Linked DNA regions of Homo sapiens: region 1 is linked to region 2. The links are contacts of gene promoters, found by promoter capture Hi-C in human tissues and cell types (Jung and others, 2019). All regions are on one chromosome and are shown on one strand. Each heading gives the region's core, a stretch centred on a gene start or on the middle of the fragment in contact. The rest is flanking DNA. Distances are from core to core; before and after follow the strand shown. Region 1 has its middle 58 kb from the start of OCM2. Region 2 holds the start of LMTK2 (lemur tyrosine kinase 2).

What was found. The method cuts DNA at HindIII sites, captures the fragments that hold promoters and counts their contacts. A contact is called where the count stands out against the background at its distance.
Region 1: a contact is called between a fragment that was not itself captured here and the fragment with the promoter of LMTK2 in region 2, in 2 of the 25 tissues and cell types used here (H1 embryonic stem cells and thymus).

What each region holds. Positions count from the first base shown.
Region 1 is chr7:98,045,270-98,051,435 of GRCh38, forward strand. No RefSeq gene overlaps it. Among named protein-coding and RNA genes, the nearest start is that of OCM2, 58 kb to the left of the region's middle. RefSeq lists enhancers at 3,035-3,535, 3,536-4,036. The HindIII fragment of the contact is 8,139 bases long and covers 1-6,166 here.
Region 2 is chr7:98,104,072-98,109,684 of GRCh38, forward strand. LMTK2 (lemur tyrosine kinase 2) reads left to right here and starts at 2,791. Exons shown (of 14, transcript NM_014916.4): 1 at 2,791-3,209. The coding sequence starts at 3,107. The HindIII fragment of the contact is 4,738 bases long and covers 1,432-5,613 here.

The sequences.
Region 1 (6,166 bases), core at 2,253-4,752, 58 kb before region 2:
ACAGAAGCAAGTTTTTTTGTTCTTGCTGTTGTTCAGTGATTTTGGACATCTAGCTCCCAGAGCTGTCAGAGCAAAGAGAATGCCTGTTGTTTGAAGCCACCCAGTTTGTGGCTTTTTTTTTTTTTTTTTTTGGAGATGGAGTCTTGCTCTGTTTCACAGGCTGTAGTGGTGCAATCTCGGCTCACTGCAATCTCCACCTCCCAGGTTCAAGTGATTCTTCTGCCTCAGCCTCCCAAGTAGCTGAGATTACAGGCATGCACCACCATACCCAGGTAATTTTTGTATTTTTAGTAGAGACAGGATTTTGCCATGTTAGCCAGGTTGGTCTCGAACTCCTGACCTCAGGTGACCTGCCCGCCTCAGCCTCCCAAAGTGCTGGGATTACAGGTGTGAGCCACCACACCCAGCCGGCACCTTGTTATAGTAGCTGCAGTGTTACATGCTGAACTGTGTACCCTCCACATTCCTACATTGAAGTCTTATTTATTTATTTATTTATTTATTTATTTATTTATTTATTTCAAGATAGAGTCTCACTCTGTCACCCAGGCTGGAGTTCAGTGGCACCATCTCGGCTCACTGCAACCCCCCGCCTCTTGGGTTCAAGCTATTCTCCTGCATCAGCCTCTAGAGTAGTTGGGATTACGGGCATGCACCACCATGCCTGGCTAATTTTTGTATTTTTCGTAGAGATGGGGTTTGTCCATGTTGCCCAGGCTGATCTCGAACTCCTGGCCTCAAGCGATGCGCCTGGCTCGACCTCTCAAAGTGATGGGATCACAGGTGTGAGCCACTGTGCCTGGCCTATATGTTGAAGTCCCAACCTCCAGGACGTCAGAATGGGAGTGTGCTTGGAAACAGGGCCTTTAAAAGGATAATTAAGTTAAAATGAGGTCATTAGGGTGGGCCCTGATCCCTTCTGACTGGTGTCCTTATAAGAAGAGGAATGAGGGGCCAGGCACGGTGGCTCATGCCTGTAATCCCAGCACTTTGGGAGGCTGAGGTGGGCAGATTATGAGATCAGGAGTTCGAGACCAGCCTGGCCAACATAGTGAAACCCCATCTCTACTAAAAATACAAAAAATTAGCTGGGTGTAGTGATGCGTGCCTGTAATCCCAGCTACTTGGGAGGCCAAGGCAGGAGAATCACTTGAACCCGTGAGGTGGAGGTTGCAGTGAGCCGAGATCGCATCACTGCACTCCAGCCCAGGTGACAGTGTGAGACTCCATTTCAAAAAAAAAAAAGAAGAGGAGGACTGAGGGACACACAGGGGCACACCATGATGTTTGCGTGCAGAGGCAATGTCATTTGAAGACACAGTGACAAGATGACCATCTGTAAGCCAGGGAGACAGGCCTCGGGAGAAACTGAGCCTGTCTACACCTTGCTCTTGGACTTCCAGCCTCCAGAGCTGTGAGAAAGTCCATTTCTTTTGTTTAAGCCACCCAGTCTGTGGTATTGAGTGATGGCAGCCCTCTAATACACAGGAGAAAACCAATACAGGAAGAACCTTTTGTTACTAGTGACAGAAAACATTATCAAATTTCCACAGAAAGAAAATGTATTGCAGAAAGAGAAACTATAGTGACTCACATTTCAAACGTACATGTATTTATTTTAAAAATAAACTGTCTATCACTACCATAAATAGAATCCCGGAACCATATCCGTGAAAGCCTGTGAACACACAGCAGTCATTTTGGCTTCAGGTAGGGCTTGGTGAAACATACACGCAACTTTACCACCATCCACGTCTCAGCTCTGCATCCCAGGATTCTGGCCAAAAAAAAAAAATGCTTTTTTTTTTTTTTGTGATCACAGACAAATGCAGCAAGCAGTTCACAAAGCTATACTCTCCTGGGTCTTCAGCCAGCAAGAAGGAGAGTGCCCTTGACCGCCAAACAAATCCAAGGCTTTGCCCCAGTTGGACCCTCTGAGGTCACAGGCTGTCTCTGAACCAATCATTGTTGCCAGAAAACGTGATGTCCCAGTGAGCTTAGTCCTTGACCACATGTTCCTCTCCTGGTATGGAGGGGTCATGAGAGTGAGAAGGAGGAGGGTGCTTTCCTCAAACACATTGGACTGATACCTTTGGGTAAATATCTTCAGAAAAGTTGGGGTATTTGTTTTTTAAAAAATTTATATAAAGAGCCAGGCACGGTGGCTCACACCTGTAATCCCAGCACTTTGGGAGGCTGAGGTGGGTGGATCACCTGAGGTCAGGAGTTTGAGACCAGCCTGACCAACATGGAGAAAGCCCATCTCTACTAAAAATACAAAACTAGCCAGGCGTGGTGGCGCATGCCTGCAATCCCAGCTACTTGGGAGGCTGAGGCAGGAGAATCGCTTGAACCTGGGAGGCAGAGGTTGTGGTGAGTCGAGATCGTGCCATTGCTCTCCAGCCTGGGCAACAAGAGCGAAACTCTGTCTCAAAAAAAAAAAAATTTATATACACACATATTATATATATTAGACATATATGTTTTATATATCTTATATATGTTATATATAAGGCATATTATATATGTTATATATAAGGCATATTATATATGTATATATTTATATACACACATATATAAATAGACATACACATATGTATATATAATATGTCATATATATAAATATATATGTGTATATACATAGTATGTCATATATATATTAGACAGGGTCATGCTGTGTTACCTGGGCTCTGGAGTGCAGTGGTGTGAACATAGTTTTTAAATTTTTTGCAGAGATGGGGTCTTGCTATGCTGTCCAAGCTGGTCTTGAATTCCTGGCCTCCAGCAGTCCTCCCACTTCAGCCTCCCAGAGTGCTGGGATTACAGGCATGAATCACTGCACCCAGCCAGGATAGTGTTAAGAAGAAGAAATAGATATGAGGTGGTCAGTTGCCAACTGCTATTGCAACTGCCCCAAATTTCATGCCCATAGTAATCCAACGAAGTAGGCATTGTTAGTGTCCCTGTTTTCTTTTTGAGACAGGGTCTCGCTTTGTCACCCAGGCTGGAGTGCAATCTTGGCTCACTGCAGCCTCTGCCTCCCATATTCAAGCGATTCTCCTGCCTCAGCCTTCTGAGTAGCTGGGATTACAGCTGCGTGCCACCACACCCGGCTAATTTTTGTATTATTAGTAGAGATGGGGTTTCATCATGTTGGCCAGGCTGGTCTTGAACTCCTGGCCTCAAGTGATCTGCCCACCTCAGCTTCCCAAAGTGCTGGGATTACAGGTGTGAGCCACTGCACCTGGCTAATTTTTGTATTATTAGTAGAGACGGAGTTTTGCCATGTTGGCCAGGCTGCTCTTGAACTCCTGAACTCAAGTATCTGCCCGCCTTGGCCTCCCAAAGTGCTGGGATGACAGGTGTGAGCCACCATGCCCGGCCAAGTGCCCCTGTTTTCTATAGGAGAAAGCTAAGCCTTTGGAGGAAGAAACGAGTTGTCTGAGCTGGCAGGTGGGAGAGTTTGGACGCAAACTTGAGTCTCTAAGTCTGTCCCCAAAGTCTCTCTCTTTTCCCCCACGTTCACTCTCTTCCCCTCTAACTTCTGACAAAGAACCTGTGCCTGATTCTTGTCCGACTTGTTATCTACTTGAAATTGGCCACCGTGAGAGTATTTACACTGTGGAAATTAGCAACTGCTACAGATCAGGACTTTTTCCCCCAAAGAGTCAGTGAGCCTCAAGACACAACAGCTCTCATTGCGACTCCAATGGGGTTCACCACTTTGGGGGAACCCATCTCAAATCTCACAAGTGGATCCTTGATGCTTTAATTTGGTCTGAAGAGATTTCAGTGTAGTGTGAGATGGAGAGGCTTAGAAAAGCCCCCTGGCTGCGGCAGAGTTAGTGTGAAAACAGCAGCCACTTCCTGAGACGGTGGAAATTAACATCCGCGAGAAAGATTTTGGCATCTCATAGCAGCTGAGCCCTCTGGCAACCTGCATTCCTGGCCAGTTACTCACTCCTGAGCCTAAGCAGGTGTTGACTGGGCTCTGCCCCTCCTAGTGTGGCTAGGACTGCCCTGGCCTGCCTGTTCCCTTCCTTGGCAGATCACCTATTTGCTAAGTTACCCTGGGATTTCTCCATCGGTGTCCTGCACTCGCAAGACGGGGAATAGGCAGGATGGGATGGGGCGCTGAGCCGCAGCCTAGATTTGGTCAGGAGCTGAGGATCAAACCTATTCCTGGGGCCGGGCGCAGTGGCTCACACCTGTAATCCCAGCACTTTGGGAGGCTGAGGCGGGCAGATCACTTGAGGTCAGGAGTTCAAGACCAGCCTGGCCAACATGGCAAAACCCTGTCTCTACTAAAAATACAACCCACAATTGTCTGGGTCCTTGCCTGGCCTGTTTGTTTGTTTTTAATTAAAGATGGGATCTTGCTATGTTGCCCAGGCTGGTCTTGAACTCCTGAGTTCAAGAGATGCTCCTGCCTCAGCCTCCCAAAGTGCTGGGATTACAGACATGAGCTACTGCACCCAGCCTAGTATTTTGAACAGCACATTTTTCCTGCTTTTTGAACAAGAGGCCTGCATTTACATTTTGCACTGGACTCCACAAATTATGGAACCGGCCCTGTAGCAGAGTCCTCACCCCCAAAGACCCAGAAGACTTGGAAATGGAAAAGAAGCCCAATATTTTCCCATGTGATAAAAGGGCCAGGCATGTTTTTTTGGAGGCCAATTTTACCAGCCAGTCCTCTCCAGTCCAGACTATTCCCCTGAGATCACTGGTTTATCTTCCCCTCATCCTAACTGGTGGGCCTAACCCATTTTTACCCTGATTTTCCAAAATGACCCAGGGTTAAGAGAAGGAAACACAAGCCAAAGACTCTGAGAAAATATTTGCAAAACATATATCAGATAGAGGATTTGTATTCCAAATATACAAAGAACTGTTAAAACTCAATCATAACAAAATGGTGTCTGGGTGTGGTGGCTCACACCTGTAATCCCAGCACTTTGGGAGGCTGAGACAGGTAGATCACCTGAGGTTAGGAGTTCAGGACCAGACTGGCCAGCATTGTGAAACCCCATCTCTACTAAAAATACAAAAATTAGCCAGACGTGGTGGCACGCACCTGTAGTCCTGGCTGCTCGGGAGGCTGAGGCAGGAGAATTGGTTGAACCTGGGAGACGGAGGTTGCAGTGAGCTGAGATCATGCCACTGCACTCCAGCCTGGGCGACAGAGTGAGACTCTGTCTCAAAAAAACAAAACAAAACAAAACAAAACAAATGAATAACATATAAAGCTTTTTTCTTTTTTCTGCAGTCTCTCTATTGACTTGTCACAATATTTTTTATTTGCTCCCTACTATCATTCTAAGTAAAGAAAACTCAGAAATCTAAATTATTAGCATGAATTTACCATTCATCTTTACATTGTGTAACGCCAATTTTTTTTTTTTTTTTTTGAGACAGGGTCTTGCTCTTGTCGCCCGGGCTGGAGTGCAATGGTGCGATATCGGCTCACTGTAACCTCCACCTCCCAGATTCAAGCGTTTCTTGTGCCTCAGCCTCCTGAGTAGCTGGGATTACAGGCATCCACCACCACGGCCGGCTAATTTTTGTATTTTTAATAGAGACAGGGTTTCACCTTTTTGGCCAGGCTGGTCTTGAACTCCTGACCTCAAGAGATCTGCCTGCCTTGGCCTCCCAAAGTGCAGGGATTACAGGCATGAGCCATTGTGCCCGGCCCGAAAAGGGGGTTTCTTAAGATCAAAATCAGAAACACCTCCAAGCAAAAACGTGAACATATATTAATTCTAGGTGGAGGGTACATGAGTGTTTATTTTACTCCCTATAGTTTTCTGTAGGTTTGAACAATTCCACAATTTTTTTTTTAAAGTAGGGCTGCCAAATTTCTCTTTTTGTTTGCCAACCCACTCCTCCCCAGTTCCTGCCTTTTAAAGACAAGGAAAACCTAAGCCTGCAGGGGGTAGGGGGAAAGCGACAGGATTGGAAGCCATGGGGTGTGAGGTGGGGAAGCAGGCAGGTGGCGGGAAGATGAGACTAATTACCCACTTCCGGGATCCGGTTTGGCTCCGCCCCCGCCCTGCTGTATCCATGGTAACCAGGTCTCCTTCGCAAGGCTGGACCAGTCGCCACGACGAGCTCCGGGGCGCCACCGGTGGCCTCTCTGATGGCCCGCTCGGCGAGGGGTCCCCAG
Region 2 (5,613 bases), core at 1,541-4,040:
CCACATCCTTCAGCATCCAGGCCTCAGCCAGAGCTTGCTGGCAGGACAGACACTGGCAGGAGGGTCTTCCAAGCGATAGCTTGGCATGAAGGAAAACTTGAAAGAGGCTTGGCATGAAGGAAAACTTGCAAGAATGGCTGTAAAGGGCTGGGCGTGGTGGCTCATGCCTATAATCCCAACACTTTGAGAGGCCGAAGTGGGCAGATCACTTGAGGTCAGAAGTTCAAGACCAACCTGGCCAACATGGTGAAACCCTGTCTCTCCTAAAAATACAAAAATTAGCCAGGTGTGGTGGCGGGCGCCTGTAACCCCAGCTACTCAGGAGGCAGAGGCAGGAGAATCACTTGAGCATGGGAGGCAGAAGTTGCAGTGAGCCAAGATCACACCACTGTACTCCAGCCTGGGTGACAGAGCGAGACCCTGTTTCAAAAAAGAAAAAAAAAAAAGAATGGCTGTAAAACACTGAAAGATATTGCTTCTAATCTTAGGTATTGATTTCCAAATTGTGCTAAAGGCTGTTTTCTGACTTCTGGGTGAAACTAAACAAAGCCAACAGGTTTTTGTTTGTTTAATAACATCTCTAACTGGAAGTCTTCAAGTATTGAGTAAAGGCATACACGGTGAGGTGGGTGGTGGGGCAAAGGCTGCCTTTAGACATCATCTGGGGGATGTGCACTGTAACCCCTGTTCTGTGAAAGAGGAAAAGAAGTTTGTTTATTTGTTTGTTTGTTTTAACTTTTGGGCTTGCTCAAATAATAGCAAAATCTACTTTGGGATTGTGGTCCAACGTGCTGTTGGAGTGCACTTTAGTTGTAAATAACCACTACCAGGATTATCAGGTAAGGCCTTCCTTAGGCCAGCACTACAGCAGGCAGTCACGAGCCTCCTTGCAGTACACAGTGTGGGTGTCCCTGGCTTCTCTGAACTCAAAGTGAGAAGCTTCCTGATAGAAGTAGAAGTATAGGCTAGGCGCGGTGGCTCATGCCTGTAACCCCAGCACTTTGGGAGGCCGGAGTGGGCAGATCACGAGGTCAAGAGATCGAGACCATCCTGGCCAACATGGTGAAATCCTGTCTCTACTGAAAATACAAAAATTAGCCAGGTGTGGTGGCGGGCACCTGTAGTCCCAGCTACTCAGGAGGCTGAGGCAGGAGAATCGCTTGAACCCAGGAGGCAGAGGTTGCAGTGAGCTGAGATCGCACCACTGCATTCTAGCCTGGTGACAGAGACAGACTCTGTCTCAAAGAAAAAAAAAAAAGAAGTAGAAGTACAACAGGGTGATTGTGTCTCTTTCCTAGACCTTTGCCTTCCTTACCAATTCTGCATATAATCAGCAGAAAGCCGTGAACTTTTTTTTTTTTAAGACAGAGTCTCGCTGTGTCGCCCAGGCTGGAGTGCAGCGGTGTGATCTCAGCTCACCGCAACCTCCGCCTCCTGGGTTCGAGCAATTTTCCTGCCTCAGCCTCCCAAGCAGCTGGGATTACAGGCATGCGTCACCGTGTCTGGCTAATACTTTTTGTATTTTTAGTAGAGATGGGGTATGACCATGTTGGCCAGGCTGGTCTTGAACTCCTGGTCTGAAGTGATTCACCCACCTTGGCCTCCCAAAGTGCTGAGATTACAGGTGTGAGCCACCGTGCCCAGCCAAGCCATGGACTTTTAAATTCAATGTTTCTCGTTCCAGGTATTTGTCTCCTTAGATATTTATTGGCTTGCCTCAATCATCCAACAAATATTCCCTGGGCATCATCTGTGTGTCCAGTGCTGTGTTAACATCATCGACAGCTGGCATTTAGGATGGACATTTGGGGAGTTTGGAGAATTGGGGAGGTTACACTGTTGCCAGGTGGCAAAGTCTCATCTGATAAGATTGAAATCAGCTCCTCTCATGCACACACTGAACCATAGCGCCTCTCCAGAAAAGCTTAGCATTTTCCCAACCCCCATGCCTCTGACCACTATATTACTTGTGTCTGGAGAGTGCTTTCTCTATCCTCTCTGCAGGACTGTGTTCTCACCTCACCTCTTGGTGGGGAGAAGGCCACCCCTGGGAGCTGCTCTGCCCTGGTACCTGGGACCAGGGCCATGCACCATTGCTTTAGAGAACACCTGCTCCGACCCAGGTCCTGCACCAGGGATTTCCCACCAGCTGAATCAGACACAGTTGCTGTCCTCAGGGAGCTTACAGTCACGGGTCAATAGGATACTGCAGCTAGGATAGCAGTCCACACAGGGCCAGGGCGGGGCACTAAGGAGATGACAGTCATTTCTCCTAGAGAGTCATAGATGAAGTCATATGTCAGGTGAGTCTCGACAGATGAAAGGAAGAGTGTCTGCCAGGTGGACAAGAGGCAACAGCTTGAGCTCAGGAGGTGAGTCAGTGGGTGATGCCGAGAGAGGCATTCTCTTGATCAATTCAAGTGAAAAGCCCAAAGCTGTTTGATGGCTGAGAGGATGTGTAGGTCAACTTAAGGAGAAGAGCCTAAAACAGCTCTGACAAGTAAAAAAAAAAAAAAGGCAGAAGACAAGACAGGCCTATTTTTGCATGTTATAAAACACCGAGAAAAAAATATCAGGATGATTGTCATGGTCTTCTTTACATTTTCCTGTATTTTTCAATTTAAAATAATTGTTGGTGTTACCTGCTGCCCACGCACTCCTCCGTCTGCAGGGGGCGCACCGGCCGCCACCGCTCACTCCTTCAGGATGATGGGCGGGGCCTCCTGGGCCGGTGTGGACTGACGAGTGGCTGGCCGCCCTGTCCATCACGACATCCCGCCCCCGCGCTACGTCACATGACGCAGCCCATCATGGCGGCGGGAGCGCGGCTTCCCAGGCCCGCCGCTCCGCAGGGCTGCTGGCGTTGCTGCTGTTGAGAGGCGGCGGCGGCGGCGCAGGCGGGCGGGAAGGATGGTGTTTCTGCGACTGGAGCGGCAGGTGCGGACCGGGAGCCGGACCGAGGTTTGGCAGAAGCAACGTGTGCTCGGGAGCAACCGGCGCGGGTGCCACTGAGGCAGCGGAGGGAGGCAGGATCGACTGACGGGCGAACGGACGGACGGACGGAAGGCGACTCGAGGGCCGGCCCCGGAGCCGCGCCGTGGGCGAGATGCCGGGGCCGCCGGCGTTGCGGCGGAGGCTGCTGCTGCTGCTGCTGGTCCTCCTGATCGCCGGCAGTGCTGGGGCCGCGCCACTTCCGCAAACAGGTGCAGGTGAGCGGGCCCGCGGCGGGGACGGGGCTGCGGGGTCTTCGGCGTGGAGGGGAGGGGGCGGCAGGGCCGGGCCGGCCTCGGCGCCGAGGAATCGGAGGGCCTGCCGGGGGCGGGAAGCCCAGGGAGGCGAGTGATTAGGGAGATTTCTGCCGCAGGGGCGTGGGATTTGGGGGGGCGGGAGCGAGGCGACGTCGTTGGGGCTGGGGAGGGCGGCGGGCGAGGTAGCAGCCACCGACCCCTCCCGGGATAGGCTGCGGTGCCGGCCCTGGACCTGTTGCCTTAAGATCCTCAGCTTATATCGCTTCCTGGCAGTTCAGCTTCCCTTTCCAGATGTCACCTGCCTCTTGTGCTTTTTTTTCGCATCTCATAAGAACCGTTTCTTAGCCCTAATCATACTTAAATGCAAATGACTTGGCGAGCTGTGCGGAGTTTGTTTTCGCTCCTTGCAACTTATTCTGAAGTTGTAAATTGATTTTAGACGCTGTGCTTTTTATTCGGAATGTATCTCCGGGGATGAGAAGGAAACAACTATAAATATTTCTATTTTAGGAAGCCAGTGATTAGAGTAGCAGGCGTTGAATAACTATTGACAAACTGGCTTAAGGGTGATGGAAGTTTCTATTTTAGCTAACGTCAGTGTATGATTTTCTTTTCTCCCCCCCCGCCCATTTTCTCAACATCGTTTTTATTTGGGGTTTATTTTCCTAAATAAAACTTCAACCCAAGAAAACATCCCAAGTTGGGTCATTTTTCTAAAAAGGAAAAAAAAATCTAGGCTAACTTGGCGTTATTGACTGCCGCCATTACCTTTGAAATGGGGAAAGATTGAAATTTCATACATTCATAGAATGTTAGAGTTAGAAGAGACCTTAAAGAAAATTTAGACCAATTTCTTCTTTACGTAGTAGGAGATACTGGGCATGTTGGGTCAAATGACCTACCCAGGGTGACACAGCTTCGTTGTAGGCAGAGCCCCAAAGCCAGGTCTTAGATACCCCTAGTTGTATGATTTTTTTTAAGTCTTGTAACTGTTTTGGAATACTCTCGAGGTCAAGAGTTATTTTGGAATAATGTTAATTGGGTACAGAATGTGGATGTACTGTCTCCAGTAAAGACATATTTTTCAAACAAATCTACGATGAAAGCTACATGTAATTGCTTCCAGAGCTACATCAGGGTTTGTCATTGAGTGCCCTTTAGTTGAACGTTAAATGTCCTCATTGTACCGTATAATGTAGCACTAAATTTCTGTTACTGCCTTAGATCAAATACTTGTGAGGTGAATTCTGTTTTCTGATCCGATAGATAAGAAGAGTAAATGTTATCAGATGTGTATAGGCAACCCCGGAAAGAGTCACAGGAAATGCCTGGGAAATAATGAAAGATTATGTGGAAGGATGGTGATGTTGATATTTAAAGATATTGATATTGAAAGTTAGCACTAGTATAGTGTAGTAGGTAAAGAGTATTTATATGATGGGGATTCAAGAAATTTCCAGATGACTTTACACTTAATTGGATTTTTATATATTTTGAAGTATCGATTCTTTATAGGAACCTATGTCTGCCTGCACACTTTTTTTTTTTTTTTTTTTTTGAGACGGAGTCTTGCTCTGTCACCCAGGCTGGAGTGCATCATCGGTGCGATATCAGCTGACTGCAACCCCCCCCTTCCGAGTTCAAGCAGTTCTCTGCCTCAGCCTCCTGTGTAGCTGGGACTACAGGCCCCTGCCACCATGTCCGGCTAATTTTTGTATTTTTAGTAGAGACGGGTTTCATCATCTTGGCCAGGCCGGTCTTGAACTCCTGACCTCGTGATTCACCCGCCTCAGCCTCCCAAAGTGCTGGGATTACAGGCGTGAGCCACCGCGCCTGGCCACCTGTACACTTCTTACACGGTTTTTATTCCATTCTTTTACAATTTTATGGTGTCATGAATTATAAAATGAATTTTGTTGGGGTGTTGTAGAACAAAGCAATCAGAAAAGTTAATCTGTAAATAGAGATATCAAATCTTGACATACATATAGCATAAGGAAATATTTGGTAATTTGTAGCAACTTTTGCTACAAATTTTCCTTTCATATTCTGATCTTTGTAGGATAGGTGTATATGTTTTGACGTGTTGCATATGAATAATGGGTACCTAGGGTTAAAGTCTGTGGAAAAGACGCACAGTCAGGCCGGGAGCAGTGGATCACACCTGTAATCCCAGCACTTTGGGAGGCCCAGGTGGGTGGATTGCTTGAGGTCAGGAGTTCGAGACCAGCCTGACCAACATGGTGAAATTCCCTCTCTACTAAATATACAAAAATTAGCCGTGCGTGGTGGTGGGAGCCTGTAATCCCAACTATTTGGGAGGCTGAGGCAGGAAAATTGCTTGCACCCAGGGAGCGGAGCTTAC